2 separate regions of the Homo sapiens genome follow, and region 1 is linked to region 2. The links are contacts of gene promoters, found by promoter capture Hi-C in blood cells and fetal thymus (Javierre and others, 2016). All regions are on one chromosome and are shown on one strand. Each heading gives the region's core, a stretch centred on a gene start or on the middle of the fragment in contact. The rest is flanking DNA. Distances are from core to core; before and after follow the strand shown.

Region 1 (3,937 bases), core at 457-2,956, 110 kb after region 2:
CACAAAATCCTAGTTTCTGAGAAAATGAGTCATCTCTCACCTGACATGACATGTTGTTGTGGGGGACCAGATGTTCTTTGAGATCCCCCTTCAAAAGATACAGTTAAGAGTGAAGAGACAAACCACAGATTGGGAGAAAATGTTTGCAAAACAAAAGACCGTTACCCAAAAGCGTACAAAGAACTCTTAAAACTCAACCATACTGGTGGATCACGAGGTCAAGTGATCCAGACCATCCTGGCCAACATGGTGAAAGCCCGTCTCTACTAAAAATACAAAAATTAGCTGGGCATGGTGGCACACACCTGTAGTCCCAGCTACTCGGGAGGCTGAGGCAGGAGAATTGCTTGAACTTGGGAGGTAGAGGTTGCAGTGAGCCAAGTTCATGCCACTGTACTACAGCCTGGTGACAGAGCGAGACTCTGTCTCAAAAAAAAACAAAAACAAAAACAAAAACCATGCTGTTATCCAAAAATATACAAAGAACTCTTGACACTCAACAATAACAAAACAAACAACCCAATTGAAAAGTGGGCAAGAGATCTGAACAGATACCTCACCAAAAACATATACAGATGGCAAATAAGCATATGAAAAGATGTTCAACATCATATGTCATTAGGGAATTGCAAATTAAAACAACAGTGAGATACCACTACATATTTGCCAAAATTGCTAAAATCCGAAACACTGACACCACCAAACATTGGCAAGGATGTGAAGTAACAGGAACTCTCATTCATTACTCGTGGGAATGAAAACTCATACGGACACTTTGGAAGAAAGTCTGGAAGTTTGTCATGAAGCTTTTTTTTTTTTTAGACGGAGTCTCACTCTGTCTCCCAGGCTGGAGTGCAACGGCAAGTGTGATCTTGGCTCACTACAGCCTCTGCCTCTGGGTTCAAGCGATTCTCCTGCCTCAGCCTCCCAAGTTGCTGGGATTACCGGCATGACCACCACGCCCAGCTAATTTTTGTATTTTTAGTAGAGACAGGGTTTCACCATGTTGGTCGGGCTGGTGTTAAACTCCTGACTTCAAATAATACACCTGCCTCCGCCTCCCAAAGTGCTGAGATTACAGGTGTGAGCCACTGCGCCTGGCCATTTTTTTTTCTTTTTTTTTTTTTTTGACACAGAGTCTCACTCTATTGCCCAGGCTGGAGTGCAGTGGCGCCATCTTGGCTCAATGCAACCTCCACCTCCCAGGTTCAAGCGATTCTCCTGCCTCAGCTTCCTGAGTAGCTGGGATTACAGGCACACGCCACCACGCCCAGCTAATTTTTGTATTTTTTTTAGTAGAGATGAGGTTTCACTGTGTTAGCCAGACTGGTCTTAAACTGCTGATCTCAGGTGATCCCACCTCAGCCTCCCAAAGTGCTGGGATCACAGTCATGAGCCACCGCGCCTGGCCAAAGCATATGCTTACCGCAAGATCCAGCAATCACGTTTCTAGATATTTACCCAAATTGAACATTTATGTCCATGCAAAAACCTGCACATGAATGTTTATACCAGCTTTATTCATAATTCATAACTGCCAAAAGTTGGAAGCAACCAAGATGTCCCTCAATAAATGAATGGATAAACTGTGGCACATCCATACCATAGATTATTATTCAGCAATAAAAAGAAATGAGCTATCAAACCACGCAAAGGCATGGAAGAGCCTTAATTGAATGTTACTATGTGAAAGAAGGCAATCTGGAGAGGCTACATACTGTATGATTCCAACTATGTGACATTCTGATTAAAACTATAGAGACAGTGGTTGCCAGGGACTCAGGGGAGGAAGTGTGAATAGGTTCAGCACAGGGGATTTTTAGGGGAGTGAAATTATTCTGTACAATATTGTAACGGTTCTACATGGCATTATTCATTTGGCAAAACCGGTAGGATGTACACCAAAAGTGAACCCTAATGGAAACTATGGAACTTTAGTTCAGAATAATTTATTGATGGGATTCAGGACGTGCTACCACAAAATATGGCACCACGACTGACATGGTTTGGATTTGTGTCCTCACCCAAACTCATGTCCAGTTGTAATTCCTAATGTTGGAGGCGGAGCCTGGTGGGAGGTGATTGGATCTTGGGGGTGGTTTCTAATAGTTTAGCACCATCCCCACAGTGCTGTTTGCATGATAGAATTCTCATGATATTCTGGTTGTTTAAAAATATGTGGCACCTCCCCGCTCTCTTGCTTCCCCTGCTCTAGCCACATGAGATGTCTCGCTCCCCCTTTGTCTTCCACCATAATTGTAAGTTTCCTGAGGCCTCCCCAGAAGCCAAGCAGATGCCAGCATCATGCTTCCTATACAGTCTGTGGAACCATGAGCCAATTAAAACTCTTTTCTTTATAGATTGCCCAACCTCAGGTATCTCTTTAGAGCAATGCAAGAACAGACTAACACAATGACATATTGAATATTTTAAGGTGAAGGAATTTGCAAAAGCAGCATGTGCAGGAAGGGTTTTCTGACCTTCTCCTGAAGCCAGGTCATAAGACCCTCAGGTGAGAGATGCCCTCCCTATACCTGGTGGTATCTGTGAAGACAAAGGGACACAGAGAGGAATCTAACTAAACAAACGGGCCTTGATAAGCTTCTGCCAGCGGACTACACTTACTTCAAACTCTTTGCTCTATCATATCCTCCACAACTGTCCACCCTTTATCAAACCTACATCAAACTGTAACTGCTTCTTGGAGTCTTCATTTCCTTATAAAGGCTTCCATGTCACATAAAACTTAAATATGTTTATGCACTTTTCTCTTATTAATCTGTCTTCTGTTATAGGGTTCTCAGCCATGAACTTAGAAGGGTAGAAGGAAAACAGATTTGCCCTCCCCTACAATATCAATATTGGTTCATCACTTGTAACAAATGTACCACACTAATGCAAGATGTTAATAACGGGAAAGTGTGGGGAGGGGAGAAGTGTAGGAGGCAGAGGGTATATGGGAACTCTCTACTTTCTGCTCTTTCTTTTTTTTTCTTTCTGAGACAGGGTCTCTCTCTGTCACCTAGGCTAGAGTGCAGTGGTGTGATCTCAACTCACTGCAACCTCCGCCTCCCGCGCTCAAGCGATCCTCTCGCCTTAGCCTCCCGAAGCCAATCTGATTAAGCTAATCTGTTAAGACTCAACAATAAGAAAACAACCCGATTGAAAAGTGGGCAAGAGGTCTGAACAGACACCTCACAAAAAGATACGCAGATGGCAAATAAGCATATGAATAAGCTGGGACTACAGGTGCATACCACCATGCCCAGCTAATCTGCTCTGTTTTTTCTCTAAACCTGAAACTGTTCTTAAAAAATAATCCATTAATTTTTTAAAGTCTCACACTCTATTCTCACTTGATACATGGGTAAAGGTGACAATGAGGTGAAGTGAAAAAAGGATCGTCTTTATAGTAAATAACGACAGATCAACAAGATAGCCATATAAAAATAAAATGAGCCTTGATTTCCTACCCACACAAAATTCAAATCCAGATGGATAGTCAATCTAAATATAAAAAGGAAGCAATTGACCAGGGCGTGGTGGCTCACACCTATAATCCCAGCACTTTGGGAGGCCAAGGCAGGTGGATCACCTGAGGTCAGGAGTTGAAGACTAGCCTGACCAACATGGCAAGACCCCCACCTCTACTAAAAATACAAAAATTGGCTGGGCATGGTGGGGGGCACCTGTAGTCCCAGCTACTCAGGAGGCTGAGTCATGAGAATTGCTTGAACCCAGGAGGCAGAGGTTGTAGTGAGCCAAGATCGCAGCACTGCACTCCAGCCTGGGCAACAGAGTAAGACTCTCTCAAAAAAGAAGGAAGCAGTAAAACTTTATGAGAAATCCTAAGAGAATGTCTTTATGATATTGGAGTAGACAAAAACTCAAAAAGGACACAAAAAGTGCTGACCATAAGGGGAAAAAACCACCAACA
Region 2 (3,760 bases), core at 829-3,328:
GCTTGGAATAGTATCCACTCTGAAGACTCCTAAATCTGCTTCTAGGCCAGAATCTTCCTCTGAACTTCTAAAATATGTAAGAAACTCTAACAGACGTCACCACTTGTCTATTAGTCTCCCTGCACCTCAACATATCCAAAACTGAACTAATAATCTGCTCCCTAGAACCTGTTTATCCCTCCACACTTTCCTATCTCAATAAATGGCACCACGGTCAACTCAATTGCTCGAGCTGGAAAGCCAGGAATCATCACCTTCTCCTTTTCGCTCATCCCAGCATCCAGTCAATCACCAAGTTCTATCATGTCTTCTCTCCATCCCCACTGCTGCTCCTCAGTCAGGGCCATCGTCAGGTCCCATGACGACCACTGCCACAGACTTTTACCTGGTTTTCCTGGCCCTTCCAATTGCTTCCCTATATTGCAGTCAGAATGATCTTTCTGATATGTAGATCTAGTCAGATCTCTTCTCTGTTTAACACTGCTGCCTGACTCACTGGACTAGAAGAGTAACTCCTGCTATGAACTCCCACTGCTTCTGGCAAGTCTCAATATGAGTCATTGTGGCTGCATGGTGACTTACACCTGTAATCCCAGCACTTTGGGAGGCCGAAGCAGGAGGATCACTTGAATTCAGGAGTACAAGACCAGCCTGGACAACATAGCAAGGCCTCATGTATACTAAAAGTCAAAAAAATTAGCTGGGCGGCCGGGCGCAGTGGCTCACGCCTGTAATCCCAGCACTTTGGGAGGCCGAGGCGGGCGGATCACGAGGTCAGGAGATCGAGACCATCCCGGCTAAAACGGTGAAACCCCGTCTCTACTAAAAATACAAAAAAATTAGCCGGGCGTAGTGGCGGGCGCCTGTAGTCCCAGCTACTTGGGAGGCTGAGGCAGGAGAATGGCGTGAACCCGGGAGGCGGAGCTTGCAGTGAGCCGAGATCCCGCCACTGCACTCCAGCCTGGGTGACAGAGCGAGACTCCGTCTCAAAAAAAAAAAAAAAAAAAAAAATTAGCTGGGCATGGTGCTGTGCACCTGTGTAGTCCCATCTACTTGGGAGTCTGAGGCAGAAGGATCGCTTGAGTCCAGGAGGTCAAGGCTGCAGTGAGCTATGCATGCAGCCTGCACTGCCACTGCCACTGCACCGCAGCCTGGGTAACAGAGTGAGCTACTGTCTCAAAGGAAAAAAAAATTAATTATGCTTTTATTGAGCTTTTTTATTGTCTGTTTTCTCATTGGTCTCTAAGTTGTATTGAGTATAAGAACTGAGGTATATCCCCACACCTAGCAATAGTGCCTGGCACACAGTAGACAACAAATGTGAAGTTGAGTGAATAGATGAATTTATAACAATATTTTGTAAGCTAGGGGTTGTGACCCACCAGGATCATGAAATCAATCTAGTGGATTATAATCAGCTTTAATTTAAAGAAGAAAAAGAAATAGAAGAGAATAGCAAATAATAAGAGTATTATTTCATGAAATTTTTTTATTACAAAATTTGTAAAATGTATTTCTTATAATGAGTGGCAGTAAAACTAAAATGAAAGCCACTGGGTTGTAATAAGCAAGTACTTTTTTCTATAGTAAGAAAAAGCAGCTTTATTTAAAAAAAAAAATCGGAAAACCTTGTGACTGCAAAAGATTCCTGCCTTGGGGGATTTTTACTTTCACAGATTTCAAAGCCTTAAACTCGAGGGAAAAAAGTGTCTAGAGTTTTAGGTTTCTGTGAGTAGATCACAGAGGAATTAAAAATCCATCACAGATCCTGCCTGGTAACTATTGCCATAGACCAATGAAGCCTAAAAGTGCTGTTGAATTCTATTTCCTCTGAAGATATATCTTAAACTTTTTTGTCCCATGACTGATGACGAAAGTGGAAATCCAGTGTTAAAAGTATGAATTCTTTGCTGTTGAGGGTGGTCACTGATTTGTGTCTTGGAGAATTTAATTGGCTGTTTCTCCCAACCTTCTCTCTTGAAGAAAAGAGCCCTGAGCCAATGAGGAGCTACTGTTCTGTGTCCATAGCAACAAAATAAACAAACTTTGGCCTGCCATCTCCCAAGGGCAAACCTCACAACTCAGGCCCAAGTCACAGGAATCTGAATGGTGGGGTGACCTTCTCCTCTAGTTTAATTTCATTGCAATACTGAGAAACTTCAACTGTTTTGTCTTTAGAAGGGAAATTCATGTTTGTGCCAGGCCAGCCTTTGTAAAAGCCTTTGATTGGATTCACTAGAAGTCTGTCTTCCCGCAGTACATATACTGTGAATTTTCTCCTTCGGCATTTCAACCACTTGGAATGGCCACTAAAGTGGCTTTTGATCTAAAGTAAACTCTGATTCTGTGTTGATGGGGAACCATTTCTCTCTAACATGGTGGTTTCTTTAAGATGTTTGACTTGGGCCACATGAGAATAACAGATCTTTGGGCAGTCCAAGGTAAGCTCTTTGGAAAAGATGTTTTATATTATTTTTTCTACTGATTATTAATACTAACCAGTAACTTCTCTGAAGCCTCTGCCGGCTCACTGGTGACTATTGTTAGGGCAAGCCTCAGGTAAAATCATCAGGTAGAAGTGCAGGAAAGGGAAAAAAGGGGGAGAAAAAATCCTTACACACACTCACACACCCCTCTATAATTAGAGCTATATGATGTCAAGCCACTGTAAATGCAGATCTATCTGTGATGACATGGAAATATCAACTAGATATCCTGTTACACAAAAAGAACAAGATGCAACATTGTGTGCAAAGTATGCTCTCACTTATGCAAATAATTTAAAAAATCTATTATGCTTCTCTACAGGTTAAGTTCTATATGCAAAACATTTAAGGTTATATGCACTCACAACATTTCTGGAAGGATGCCCCAAAAATCTGTTAGAAGTAGTTCCCACTTAAGAAGCTATGAGAAGTCAAGGGCTGATTTTAGCTACTGAAATATTAAAATACTGCCATATAGGCAGGGCACGGTAGCTCACACCTGTAATCCCAGCACTTTGGGAGGCTGAGATGGGTGGATCACCTGAAGTCAGGAGTTTGAGACCAGCCTGGCCAATATGGTGAAACCCCATCGTTATAAAAATACAAAAATTAGCCAGGCATGGTGGCGGGTGCCTGTAATTCCAGCTACTGGGGAAGCTGAGGCAGGAGAATCGCTTGAACCTCGGAGGTAGAGGTTGCAGTGAGCCAAGACCACACCATTGCACTCCAGCCTAGGCAACAAGAGCAAAACTCCGTCTCAAAACAATAATAATAATAAATAAAATACTGTCATATTGATTGGTAGATGACCATTGTCCAAGCCCCTTGCATGTCCTCCTTGCCACCTTGGTTGTCCCAACTCCTCCCCTGGCACCCCCAGACCACCTCATGATTCAGCAACTAAGGGGTTAATGCCTGGCATGGAGGTGGGAGTGAGATCTCCCAGGACCCTGTTCCAACCCTGGTTGATTATTCAATAGCCTTGTCTTACTGGTTGTTAAATATTTTGAGTATCACTCCCATGGGTGTTCAAAGAAAAAGGCCTTTATTTTTATTTTATTTATTTATTTATTTTTTAGAGACAGGGTCTTGTGCTGTCACCCAGGCTGAAATGCAGTGGTGTGGTCCTAGCTCACTGCAACTTCAAACTCCTGGCCTCAAGTGATCCTCCCGCACCACCTGCCAAGTGGCTGGGACTACAGGCACACTCCACCATACTAGGCTATTTTTAAAATTTTTTGTAGATACAGAGTCTCGATATGTTTCCCAGGCTG

The links. Contacts are between HindIII fragments. The CHiCAGO score rates a contact against its expected background, and 5 or more counts as called.
Region 1: a fragment that was not itself captured here is called in contact with the fragment with the promoter of FLACC1 in region 2 in 1 of 17 cell types (endothelial precursors); the score reaches 5.8 in endothelial precursors.

The regions. Positions count from the first base shown.
Region 1 is chr2:201,248,787-201,252,723 of GRCh38, reverse strand. It overlaps a transcript of CASP8 not described here. Among named protein-coding and RNA genes, the nearest start is that of CASP8, 9.8 kb to the left of the region's middle. The HindIII fragment of the contact is 1,795 bases long and covers 809-2,603 here.
Region 2 is chr2:201,355,663-201,359,422 of GRCh38, reverse strand. FLACC1 (flagellum associated containing coiled-coil domains 1) reads left to right here and starts at 2,078. Exons shown (of 15, transcript NM_001127391.3): 1 at 2,078-2,441. The HindIII fragment of the contact is 10,294 bases long and covers 1-3,760 here.